2 separate regions of the Homo sapiens genome follow, and region 2 is linked to region 1. Evidence: promoter capture Hi-C in 16 types of primary human blood cells and fetal thymus (Javierre and others, 2016). All regions are on one chromosome and are shown on one strand. Each heading gives the region's core, a stretch centred on a gene start or on the middle of the fragment in contact. The rest is flanking DNA. Distances are from core to core; before and after follow the strand shown.

Region 1 (6,893 bases), core at 616-3,115:
ACCCCAAAGCCAGCAGAAGAAAATAAATCACTAAAATCAGAGCAGAACTGAATGAAATTGAGATCCAAAAATCTATACAAAGCATCAACAAAACCAAAAGGTGACTCCTTGAAAAGACAAACAAGGTCAATAGAGTACTAGCTGGATTAACAAAGAAAAAAAAAGAGGAGGTTCAAATAACTACAATCAGATATTACACAGGTGACATTACAATTGATCTCACAGAAATACAAAATGTCCTCGGAGACTATTATAAACACCTCTATGCACACACACTAGAAAAATCTAGAAGAGATTGATGAATTCCTGAAAATACACAACCTCCCAAGATTGAATCAGGAGAAATTGAAACCCTAAGCAAACTAATAACAAGTTCTCAAATTGAATCAGTAATTTTAAAAATCTACCAACAAAAGCAGCCCAGGACCACTTTTAGGTCACAAAATTTTAGTTTCACTTCAATCCCAGCCCCCAATTACTCTGAATTCAGCCAGTCACCTAGTCAGTACACCACTGGGATAAGGCAACTCAGAAGGAGTTTTGCTGGATAATGTACACATTTATCACTGCTGCTAGGACAAGTCAAGAAACACCTTATAAGTAAGTAGATCAAGAGTATCCTCATAATCATTGAAAGAAAGCTTTATTTTCAGCTGAAAATGTCACAGTATCAGACTTACCAGACACCATGATAATGATGGAAATCAGTAATCTTGGAGCTGACATCTTCCCTAAAGTATGCTTTTGGAGTGGTTTTCTACTTAAACATAAATCCACTTTAAATCAATCAACAGACTTGGTGAATCTGTTTCTCTTGGTCACTTTTGCTTATTCTGTCTTCAACAGGATTGCAAAACATATTTCTTCATTATCTTGCTTATCTTTAATTTTTGCTGTCATTCTATATGTTTTTGACTGATTAACCACTGATGGGAAATGTCAGTGAGTTTTGCTGTGTAATAAAGCAAAAAAGCCAATGCTTACTACTCATTGCTTCTCCCACAACATTGAAGTAGCAAGATAAACTATATAACAACTCATTTAAAAAGTAGCATTTTGAGAGTATAAATTACATATGGTAAAATGAACAAATCTTGAGTGTATGGTTTGATGAATTTCTACCTATATATGCGCTTATCTAATTACTTCCAAAACCAAGATGTTGATAATTATTATTCAAAGTGTCCTTTGTTCCAAAGTGTCCTTTGTTCCTTCTCTGCTGATATCATCTCCTCCAGAGAAGTTGAGTAAACACTACTCAGACTTCTAATAGCTTTAATTCATTCTGACAGTTTTTGAACTTCACATGCATGAAATTCTTTGCAAATTTCAATTTTTAATGCTGTATAGTAAATTTTCAATAACTATATCACAATTTATTCATCAATTTCTCTGTAGATTTACATTATCCCAGTTTGGGGCTAACATAAAGCTTCTAAGAACATTCTTGTTTTGTACATAATTTTTGGTCTATGTGTACATTCATTTTCTTGGATATACACCTAGGAATTAAATTGTTGGGTTATAAGATAGTCATATGTGTGTCTTTAATAACTACTTTCAGTCATGGTTGAATAGTGCAACCCCCGCCCAACATTTATTTGTTGAAATTCTAATCCCCAGTACCTCAGAAGATGACCTTATTTGGAAATAGGGTCATTGGAGATATAATTAGTTAAGATGTGGCCATGCTGAAATAGATTGGTCCCTAATCCAATATGACTGGCGTCTTTGGTTTATTCTTTTTTTCTTCTTTTGCACTTCTTAGCTTTTTATGGTGTCCTTATAAAAAGAGGAAAACTGGGCGCATACACAGGAACACCATGTGAAGATAAAAGGCAGAGATCTGAGTGATGTTTCTTCTACAAGCCAAGGAAAACCAAAGGTTGCCAGGAAACCACTGGAAACTAAGACCGAAGCAAAGATTCTACCCTTCTGTTTTATAAGATTAAAGATTCTTTTGATGACAGGACACAACATGAAGACTCTTGGATAGGTGAAAGGCAAACCTCTTTGTTACTTATAGCTCCAAACAAGAGAAGAATTCCATGTAGGGCCACACAGTGGTTGCACACAGGGACAGGGTAACAACACACTGGAGCTGTAGAGAGTACCTTATATATGGTAATTGGAGTAGAATTAGGTTTCCTGAGAACCCTGTGCCTTAGCTAATTTGAATAACTTCACAAGCTCTAGGACATAGCTGTCCATGGGGCTGTTTGTAGTTGTCTGGTACTTAGCCCTGGGCAATTAGGGCAGGTATATAGTGACATACAGTGTGAGAACCAGATAAGGGAAGAGGCTGGGGGGACTTAAATCAGATATTCAAGAAGGGGAGCTAACTGTTAGGGGCTCAAAACTGGGACTAGAAGGCATTTTTTTTTTACATGAAAACTATATTAAAATTGACTTCTTGATCTCCACATTAGTGTTAAGCTTGATTACTTGAATTATTTGGGTGGCCTAAGTTGTAGAGCAGAGTTTTAGTAAGTAGTGCATACATTGCCCTAAATAGCACACACACACAAAAATTTTATTATTTTCTCCTTAAAAAGGAGGAAAACAAGTAGGAGTATAAAGAGTCCTTGTAGGCTGGTTCATAACCAAGTTTCACATTGTATGGCCTTAGCCAAGAAAACAGATCCGGGATTTCCAAGATCTCTAACAATATCCTGATTGACTTAAAGTATGTTAAAACATGAGCTATATTTTTGTGTGCGTGACGGTAATCTCTTGGTACATTCCAGGGTTCAAGGTGGCAGGTCCAACAATTATATTTTTGGAGAGTATGAAGTTAGTTAAGTAAGGTATATGTAAAGATTAATGACGTTTGTAACCTAGAGGAAGAGGTAGCAGCTGTGGGTCATGGGTGCAGGGCAGGATGTTGTGGTGGCAAACTGGAATGGAAAGTGTCAGAGGAGGTAATGGGCAATGGGAGGTCCTCTCTCCAGGGGGTTAAGTGGTGAACCCATATGAGGCAGTTGCTTCCTGGGGAAAGCAATAATCTCATTAATTATTAGAATGGCTCAAAGAGTAATACACTCTACCAGATTTTCCTTTAGGCATGGAAGTATAAAGGGGTACACTTTGGCAAAGAACAAGAGTTTAAGCAAATGGTGAACTCAGGAAACGAAACAGAATTTCTTATATCAAAGGAAGTAAAATGATAAATGTCCTGTGTCCAATTTTTTAGCTCCTTAGGAAAGCCAGCCTATGGATGTTGCTGGGGTGGTGGTCTCAGTGTCCAGGGTGAAGTCGTTTCTGGGGAAAAGGGCAAATTCATCTTCAAGGTCAAAGTCTTGGGCCGAAGTAATATCATCTATAATGTGAAACTGAAACTGGAACTGTGATGTGGGACATCCTTTTCAAATGATCACAAACTTGAGTTGATGTGGGTCTTATTTTTGTGGCTCTGTGGTACTATAACGAGGCTGAACCACATGTGGAATATGAAGGCAATGTTAGGCCTAGGGGCTTGATATGCAAATATCATTTAAGTCAAGGAGCTTTGAGGTGCACAGTTAGCAAAGGTGAGGTCAGTATCCATGATACTGCTGTTATGTATCAAAGCACTAGAACTGAATGGCATAATTAAAGCCTCAATTAAGTGTGGCTGAATTTAAAATTCCCAACAGCCCAAGGTTTTCAGTTATGAAATAGGTTGTGCTGCAAACAGATCTTCAATCAGGGATTTCTCTTCCAAGATGGCCAACTAGAAACAGCCAGGAGGAATATCTTCCACTGAGACACCCGGGCATTGGAAAGGCTGGCACACTTCTAGCCCTTCTTCAGAGGGAAGGCACTGAGAGCAGATGGAGGGAAGAAGCAGATGCTGGGCTGAAGGGGGAGGAAGATGGAAATGCTGCATGGAGCTATGGAACACTAGAACTCATTCCTGGCCCCCAGTGACTCCTGCAAGGTGATGATGGGTTAAACAGGCAAGGAGCAACCCAGTTTCACCATGGGCCTCTGGAATCCCAGCAGGAGAAGACCCCTGGACCACCACGGACACTTGAACTGATAGAAAGACCTGCTTAGAGAAGTGATAGAAGCAGAGCTCCTGCTGGTGTGAAGCCCAGAGAGTTTGGTTCTAGAGCATCTGTAGTGAAGCACAGCCAGGGTTACCCATACCCTTAGGCTCAACTTGCTGCCACAGGAGACTTTGTCCCTAGGGTAACTGTTGGACCTTAACTCTGCAGGGTGGTCTTGCCCATGAGATGGGGCTGGTTTGACCTGAGCACCCCTCAGTCTACTGGCCTCTCCCAGGGCTCCAAGTACCAGGTACCTCTTGGCGGCTCAGATCATAACTTCTGCACTGGTGGACCATGCCTGACTGGCAGAGTGCTCCAGCAGAGCAGACCCTGCAGACACACACCAGCTCGCCTGCACCCTCCCCCATCCATAGGCTCACTTGTGTCACTTTGCTGCCAGCCCTCCCCCACCAACATTACTTTGCTGGTGCACGTGTGCACCAGGGGACCTTCCCTTCCCTTACACACTACCATGTGTGTGCACATGCACCCTGCCCTGTCACTGCTGCAAATGTGAGTGCACCCCGCTCCTACCCTTTGCTGAACAGCCATTGTCATTGGAGCATTGGCAGGCACGGAGCACACTAGACCTGCCCCCACCTGCAACTACCCTGTTCTGACACTGCCACCAGAGAGAAACTATGGAGGGAGAAAAGCAGAACCACCCCTGTCCTGAGCAGCCAAGGCTGCCAGTGTGAACTCTTGCAGAGGGCACACACAGTTCTGCATCTGCCAGTAACCTGTCCCCATGCTAACACCATGAATGGCACAAATGAGTGCACAGACACTGGCAGGGGCCCTGCACCCCTGAGCTATGATCCCACCATACTGCTGCAAACAACCACATGGAGGCTGGCAGCCTGGCACCAACTAGCACCCTGGTAAAGTCCATGAGTGTGCACCCTGACATGCTGCCACTGTCACTGTTGCTGGTACATGTGAACCAGGATGGATCCCACTGCTACTGCCCTATGGAGTGGTTTGCCTGGCACCACCCATTAGAGTGTTGTAACCATTAGAGTGTTGTGACCAGCTTGGAGCACCATGGCCCCTCCAGTGCAGCAGGTTCCTTCCTAACCTCAAGAAGCCAAAGAACAAAACCAGGACCCAATAATAGAACCCCAGAGTTAGAGCATGAAGTCCAGGGGTCCTGAGCTGAGCCTTGGACCTCTAAAACATTCCAGAAATGAAGCCACCTTATACCACAAACAAACCCCTAATATCATCAAATAGGGTAAAAGAAAAAGAAAGCCCATCCAAAGGACAGCAGCTTCAAAGATCGAAGGAACATTGGTCCACAAAGATGAGAAAAAAGCAGCACAAGAACTCTGACAACTACAAAAGCCAGAGCATCTTCTTTCCTCCATATGATCACACTAGTTCTTCAAGAAGAGTTCTTAACTCAGCTGAGATGGCTCAAATGACAGAAAAAGAATTCAGAATATGGATAACAACAAAGATTGTTGAGATTCAGGAGAATGTTGAAACTCAAACTAAGGAAACTAAGGATCGCAATAAAATGGTACGGGAGCTGACAGACAAAATAGCCAGTATAGAAAAGAATGTAACCAACTTAATAGATCTGAAACCACACTAAAATAATTTAATAATGCATTCATAAGTATGAAGAGCAGAATACAAAAAGCTGAGGAAAGAAACTCAGAGCTTGAAGACTGGCTTTTTAAAGTAAGACAGACAAGAATAAAAATAGAGAAAATGAAAAGGAACAAACAAACCTCCAAGAAACATGGGATTATGTAGAGAGGCCAAATCTACAACTCATTGACATCCCTGAAAGAGATGGGGAGAATAGAAGCAACTTGGAAAACATTTTTCAGGATATCATCTATTAAAATTTACCAAATCTAGCTAGAGAGACCAACATTCAAATTCAGGAATACAGAGAACCCCCACAAAACACTTCACATAAAGATCATCCTCAAGACACAAAATCATCAGAATCTCCAAGGTCAAAATGAAAGAGAAAAATGTTAAAGGCAGCTAGAGAGAAAGGACTGGTCACCTACAAAGGGAAGCCCATGAGAATAACAGCAGGCCTCTCAGCAGAAAACCTACAAGCCAGAAAATATTGGGGGTCTATATTCAACATTCTTAGAAATTCCAACCAATGATTTCATATCCAGCCAAACTAAACTTCATAAGCAAAGGAGAAATAAGATCCTTTTTAGACAAGTAAATACAGAGAGAATCTGGTACCACAAGACCTGGCTTACAAGAGCCCCTAAAAGAAACACTACGTATGGAAAGAAAAGACTGGTTATCAGCCACTACAAAAACACACTTAAGTACACAGACCAGTGACACTATAAAGCAACCACACAAACAAACCAGCATAATAACAACCTAATAACACAATGACAGCATTAAAGCCACATATAGCAATACTAACCTTGAATGTAAATGGGTTAAATGTCTTAATTAAAAGGTATGGAGTGGAAACCTGGATAAAGAAGTAAGACCCAATGGTGTGCTGTCTTCAAGAGATCCATCTCACATGCAATGACATCCATAGGCCCAAAATAAAGGAGTGGAGGAAAATCTACCAAGCAAACAGAAAACAGAAAAGAAGCAGGGGTTGTGATCTTAATTTCAGACAAAACAGACTTTAAACCACCAAAGATTTAAAAAGGCAAAGAAGGGCATTACATAATGGTAAAGGGTTCAATTCAACAAGAAGACTTAACTAACCTAACTATATTAAATATACATGCACTTAACACAGGAGAACCCAGATTCATAAAGCAAGTTCTTAAAGACCTTCAAAGAGACTTAGACTCCCAAATAATAGTAGTGGGAGACTTCAATACCCCCTGACAGTAATCGACAGATCCTCAAGGCAGA
Region 2 (7,141 bases), core at 2,524-5,023, 110 kb before region 1:
GTTTCCATTTTCAAAGTTTTTTGAGTTTTAGAACTTCACATAAAGGATTCCGGACCTGCACTGTTCACTAGGTTTAGTATCTCTCCCTTCCCGGGGTAGTGCCGACAATACTGCTGATTCTTACTCTTACTTTAGGTTTGATGAGCCAAGCTTCCAGCTCCAGGTTTTCTTGAGTCAGGGTAAAATACATTTGGCCTCTAGGGGGAGCTCCAGGCCTCCAGTTTCACTCCACTTCACCACTTCCCCAGACCCCAATCTACACCCTGGAAAGCAAAGCGCTCCAACCCCAAAGAGGAGCTGTACAACTGGACATGTCAAGAAGTACTTACATTGAGCCACCATACAAAGGCTGTGGTCTCTTTTTCCCAGCATTTTCTTCTCTGGGAGTGTGTCTTCCCTCTGCACACGTGGTACAGTAGATGACCAGGAGCTGCTCCTGGCCGTGGCTCATCCCTCCCTGAGAGAGCAATGGGATGGGCAACGTCTACAGAACAGTGTCCCACAGCGCTTAAGAATATGCAGGCCGGTCCTCCCTTTCCTTGGCAGGCTTTCCTACCGCCCTTCCTTGCCATCAGTGTGGTACAATAGAAAAGTTAGAAGGGCGGTGGCTCACGCCTATAATCCCAGCACTTTGGGAGGCTGGGGCGGGCGGATCACGAGGTCAAGAGATCGGGGCCATCCTGGCCAGCATGCTCAAACCCCATCTCTACTAAAAATACAAAAATTAGCTGTGCGTGGTGGCGGGCGCCTGTGGTCCCAGGTACTCAGGAGGCTGGGGCAGGAGAGTCTCTTGAACCTGGGAGGCGTAGGTTGCAGTGAGCCGAGATCAGGCCACTGCACTCCAGCCTGGCGACAGAACGAGACTCCGTCTTTAAAAAAAAAAAAAAAACGGAATTTTTTTTTTTTTAATGACCTTCCTTAAAGGCAGCAGAGGGAGGTCTCCGTGTCCCAAGCCTCTGCACAGGGTCCCTCATTGAAACTTGGAATAAAAGTTCACCGAAGCCAATGAACATTTTCTGGTTTTCTGCTAAATGTCTGTTTTCTCACATGAGAAAAGTCGCCGTAGAGAGACTGTTCCCTAGATTCCCGGAAAAACACCGTTCCATTCCCATTTAGAAACAACTTATAAATACAGTTGTCTATGTGTGGGCTTTGTTTTGGTTGCATTTCAAACCTGCTTTCTCTCATTTACACCTTCAATTAAGTGCTTTTATACTTTCTCAGGTTCCCAGTTACGGGAATTCTCTTGGTTGTGTCTAGAGCTGGCTCATTGCATTCATTATGTGTTATATTTCACCATTTTAGCTTTCAGAGATAACTGTGTACCCAGGGTTGGTATTCAAAACTCTGAGCAACTGAAAAGCCACAGGCACCAACCAATCAGAACAGATGCTAGCTATAAGCAACCAACGCAGCTGTGCCGTGCCATGCACACAGATGGAGCCTCAGCCTGGCTGATGTGATCTATGTAAGAATCTGGTCTATGATTCCATTCTAGCTTCTATTCCTACTTTGTACTTGGCCTACTTGTGAAATATGTCTTCATGTAACATTGAGGAAAGGCAGTAAAAAAAAATTTCTATTGCCATAAAAAACACATAATTAATGCTGCAGTGGCAAACAAAAACCAATGCTAGTGTAACCACCCAAGGGGTTCACCTTGCCCGGTGCCTAGACAGAGCCGATTCATCAAGACAGGGGAATTGCAATAGAGAAAGAGTAATTTATAGAGCCGGCTGTGCAGGAGACTGGAGTTTTATTATTATTCAAATCAAACTCCCTGAGCATTCAGGGAGCAGAGTTTTTAAGGATAACTTGGTTGGGTGGGGGGAAGCCAGTGAGCCAGGAGTGCTGGTTGACAGGGATGAAATCACAGGGAGTCGAAGCTGTCTCCTTGTGCTGAGTCAGTTCTTGGGTGGGTGCCACAAGATCAGATGAGCCGGTTTATTGATTTGGGTGGTGCCAGCTGATCCATCAAGTGCAGGGTCTGCAAAGTATCTCAAGCACTGATCTTAGGAGCAGTTTAGGGAGTCAGATTCTTATAGCCTCCAGCTGCATGACTCCTAAACCGTAATTTCTAACCTTCTGGCTAATATTGGTCTAGTCCCCAGGCAAGAAGGAGGTCTGCTTTGGGAAAGGGCTGTTACCATCTTTTTTTTTAAACTATAAACTAAATTTCTCTCAAAGTTAGTTCGTCCTACGCCCAGGAATGAAAAAGACAGCATGGAGGTTAGAAGCAAGATGGAGTCAGTTAAGTTAGATCTCTTTCGCTGTCTCAGTCATAATTTTGCAAAGGTAGTTTCAATCGTGCTGATTATTCTCACTGCCTACTTAAGTGTAGTATGAAAGGAACTATTCCTGGTAGAAGCTGATATCTCTATCTGAAAGGCAGGATGTGGCCTCTAAGAACCCGCTCTTACTTCTAAAAGGACAGGTCCTAAGAGACTGCATCAAGCCTTCAGCTCACAAAGAATTGCTGCTGGTACCATTCAAATTATTCATTCTAGAAAGCCCAAAAAAATATTTCTTAAACCTGCTAACTATAACCTTCCGTAATAGCAGCATAGACTACCAGAAGCCAAAAATATACATTTCATGTAAACAGCTTTGAGCTTTGTCAAGTGTTAAATACTGAACTGGTCATCGTACATGACTCAAAGTATCTAACTCAGGGGTGTTTTCTGCACACATTAGTCAATGCCATCTCCTGACAAAATATGACATGCCATTTGCGGCTCTACTAGGCATTCTAAATATCAGGAAAAAAGAAGAGAACTAAGGTATGAGATTGTTACACGCGGTTGTGAGTAACAGCAAGGGAAAAGCAATAGAACAGAGGTCTCTGGGCAGAAAGTTCCTACCAGAGAAATTCTGCTGGTTTGTTCTAATACCCAGGCACTGAGTTAGCTTCCAATGCAAAAGCACAAAATATTAGAAGGAATATTAATATAACCTCTCACTCTATAGAGGAGAAAGCAAAATCCTTCAACTACCTCTCAATTTTAGTTGAAGCATTTAGAGGAGTTTTCTGATGGATATACATAAAACCTGCTTTACACAAATTGGTTTTATGGTGTCCTTGGTTGGAGCATCTCTATTACATAAATCATGAAATGACTGCTTTTGGACAAAATTTCCCCTTTATATTTCTCTAGACTAGGGAACCTGATATAGAGTGTGAAGAACCTTTTTTCTTCTCCCATTCTCTTTTTTTGGGGGCTGATTTTTGGTTCATATTTGTAGGTTCAAGGACAACTCTGTAAAGAATTTTGAAAATTCAAACTTCAACCAATTTGAGGATATCCTAACCCAGTAGTGTTGAAAGTGTGTTCACAGACTACTGACAACTGTTTCTTATCAGTTCATGACAAGATTCATACCGAAATTGAGAATTGCATTTAGAATGCAATAATTTTAAATCCCTTAAAGCTAATGACAAAAAAAGAGGTGTTTATATTTTGTGTATTCATCCATGAGGAACTGGGAATTTAAAAGAACTAGCTGGTTTTTAATCCCAGATATTTTGAGAAGCATTGTTCTAACTTGTGGTCTTTTCAATTGCCCATGCCTTGCTTTTGATCCATAGTTGTATAATGATTGATTCTGACCTTCTGATTAGCAAAGCCCAGGGTAGAAAAATCAAGCACAAAGTCCAGTAAAAATAATTCATCACCTGGTACCAGTATAATATGGCTTGATTTTTGCCTTGAAAAGCACTATCACATATTAGCTCTTTTAAAGTTTTGCAACCATATGAGATAGGAAAGATATTACATGTATTTTATATGTGATTCAGCTGAGCTCAGAGAGAGTGTGCCCTGTCTGAGCTCCCACAGCTAAGCTGACAAACTGGAGAGGGTTAGGAAAGAGTTGAAAGGCTATTCACTGGATGACTGACCATGAAAAAATTGCTTAATTTCTCTGAGGTTTACTTTCCTTATTTGAAGCAAGCAGATAATAATAATTACCTGGCAGGTTGGATGCTTGATGAAAGGAACAAATGAGAAAATATGGTAAACATTTAAAAAATTGTTATTTGTCCTTATTAAGATCTGTTCACTTGCATTACAGGTAGAACAATAGTATCTCACAAAAGTAGGATAGTTTTCCCAGGGCCTGGAACACATACAAAAAAAGTGTCAGTAAATAGTAGCAGAATGAATGTCTAAATGAATGAGCATGGCTTTTTGTCTGTACTAAATTCTTTCTAATGTGCACAGAACTTGATTAAAAGGAATGTAATCTTGCAAATTCTATTCTCTACTGGTATATTACTTAGGATTTCATGGATTGTATTCAACTATATACACATTTTTGGATAGTTGACCCAGAGATTTTCAAACTCATTTTAATTAACGAACTCGTTTCTCCAAAGTTTTATGTACAGTTTCGTAGTTTAAAAACAAATATATATATATACACACACACACAGAGTATATACACATATATGCTATAGATGTGTGTATATACTATGTGAGGCATAGTATATATACAACCTCATAGTATATATGTATATATACCATGTATACATATAGATATATACATACACATATATGTATATATACACATATATATAATACATATTATTTATAGTATATACAAGGGATTATTTTTATTGGAGTTTGTGTCTGATTTTATACTTGATATTGTATCTGTGTGTGTGTGTTTGTATTTGGTGACAGAAACAGCATGATCTGGTTCCTGACTCACTCAGCCTCTCCCTGGCCCCAAAATAGCTCCTGAAATGCTTTTTCAAGCCCCTAGGGCTCCATGAAGCACAGTCTTAAAAACACTGTCTTTTTTATTAGTCGACAGCATGAACAAGTAACAGTAGAAACAAGTTTAACCAAAATGTCCAGAACTGACAAGAATTTATAGTAAGTTAGAAAAAATAAAGGCAAGCATACAGACTTTCAGAAACATAGATATCTCTCCTGAAAAATCTCCCAGAAGTGATAGCCATGAGTCAAATATTACATTTTACCTTTGAAAGTCCAAACTGTAGTGAGTTATCCATAACCTTCTGTGGTTCCACCCAATTTTGTGTTTTGCATGTTTTGAGAGAAATGCAGAATTTCCTGTAGGGTGCTGTGGTTTTCATTGCTTGGTTGATGTTGTGAACATCCAGGGCCAGCTTTCCTCAAGTTCAAAGACAGGAAAACACAAGACACCAATGAAGAAGTTACAAACCTCCCAATACTCTAGTGACCCTGACTTAGAAGGGCCAGGTAGCTGAAAACAGTGACCTGATCAGTCAGAGAAAGTAGAATGGGACCTCTTTAGCACTAATACTTGAAAGAACATGCTACAGCCTCATGTCATGTGCTAGACAAGACATTGGAGCTCCCAAAAAATTGCCTGGGTACAGCAGTCAGTGCAGCCCAGGAAGTTTGTGCAGTTGAGGACACTGAAAAGGTAGAGTGCCAAGGGGCCCATCCATAGGTCAAAGTGGGCACATGGTGAACTCTCAAGATGAGGAGCTTAGTTGTAGCTTTGCTGAGTTCATGGAGAAGACAGGACATGCAATTCACTTATTAAAGTGCCAAAAAGTTGAAAGAATCATGGCTTTGTGTCCTGACTTTCCTGGTCGCATTCTCTCATCTACATAGCAGATGGACTCCCCTCTGGGCTGACAACCTTAGTATGGTTTATATGGCTTGAATTAGTAAATGCTACTCCAAGGTATTGCCATTCCATTTGTCTTCACCCATAGATTTCTCTTTTTCTTTTTTTCTTTTTGAGACAGAGTATCACTCTGTCACTCAGGCTGGAGTGCAGTGGTGCCATCTCGGCTCACTGCAACATCTGCCTCCTGGGTTCAAGGGATTCTCCTGACTCAGCCTCCTGAATAGCTGGGATTACAGCCACCCACCACCACACCCAGCTGATTTTTGTATTTTTAGTAAAGATGGGGTTTTGCCATGTTGGCCAGGCTGGTCTCAAGCTCCTGACCTCAGGTGATCCACCCACCTTGGCCTCCCAGAGTGCTGGGATTACAGGCGTGAGCCACTGCGCCCAGCCTGATTTCTGTTTTTCTTTAATTGCAGAAGCTCTAATATGTAAGTTGGAGGATTCTTATTTCACTATAAATTTATCTTTTTGAGTCTTGCAAACAACAGAGGAGGTGGGTAGGAGAATAGGAAATACTTTAAAGAATCGGAGAGGACATCTCTTCAATCTGAGGTAGCAGCTATGTTTGATTTCATTTTTCCACTGCTCCGAATGATCTTCTCTTCAAATCATGTGACTTATGAGATAGTGACAGATAACACAGGAGTTCATGATTGCTGCATCATTTTCATCTAGAAAGATCTCAGTGCAACTTGTAAGATTTATATCGCTTTCTAGCTGTGAGTTACAAATTCAACAATATACTTTTGCAACAGCACTTTAAAGACAGATAACCTCAACATTTCGCAAAATAATTTTGAAATAATATGTTTGAACATCAACTCTGATGCTGTTAAAGGAACCTAGCAGATGTGTCTTTAATTTAAAGCAATAGACTCTTTCATTAAAACTCTGGAAAGGGCTGGGGACCATTCTTTCTACTTTAGATACACGTGAAATTTAGGCCCAGAAATGTTAGAAGGTGTTGTAAATTCTGTGACTACACTCCAATTTTCTAGGTTGCTGACCTTTCACCTGTCCATTAAATTAGGGTTCATTCAAATGGAGTTTTTTTCAGAGGTAAGATCTTTCATAGTTTTTCATACCACAAAATGTTCTATCCCCACTTAGAGAATTAAAACAAACAAACAAAAAACAGGTAAAACTTGACATAGGGGTAAGAAAATTAAACCACCTTTTGTTATTTTGAGATTTCCAAACCAAGTCTGTGCTGTCCTAAAAAGTACTACCACCTACAATATTAAGTTATAGGGGAAAGACTTTTTTAAATATTAATTGTCCTTCTAGATTATTCTTCTTTCAACCAGAAGACCTAAAAACTGAATATGGACTTAATGAAGATGTCAGATGCTATTTACCTTAGAGTTGGGAGTGCTAGAATCTTAAAATCATTTCATTTTGATTGCCTCCCTAGGAAAGATGATAAGGAGTGACAGAGAGGGAGCTTTGTAGGTCATAGGGTCATAATGAAATGTTCATTTCCATATGCAGAGCCTGAAGATTGAGAAGG

Evidence for each region. Contacts are between HindIII fragments. The CHiCAGO score rates a contact against its expected background, and 5 or more counts as called.
Region 2: a contact is called between a fragment that was not itself captured here and the fragment with the promoter of CD200R1L in region 1, in 2 of 17 cell types (M1 macrophages and M2 macrophages). The highest score is 7.0, in M1 macrophages.

The regions. Positions count from the first base shown.
Region 1 is chr3:112,844,999-112,851,891 of GRCh38, forward strand. CD200R1L (CD200 receptor 1 like) reads right to left here and starts at 1,866. Exons shown (of 8, transcript NM_001199215.3): 1 at 1,627-1,866; 2 at 681-952. RefSeq lists an enhancer at 5,728-5,897. The HindIII fragment of the contact is 1,004 bases long and covers 1,431-2,434 here.
Region 2 is chr3:112,734,710-112,741,850 of GRCh38, forward strand. It overlaps LINC02042 (long intergenic non-protein coding RNA 2042), which reads right to left. Exons shown (of 5, transcript NR_110017.1): 2 at 6,990-7,141; 3 at 4,985-6,302; 4 at 3,969-4,116; 5 at 1,740-1,987. It overlaps MIR9900 (microRNA 9900), which reads left to right and starts at 2,380; the gene lies at 2,380-2,472. The HindIII fragment of the contact is 7,250 bases long and covers 149-7,141 here.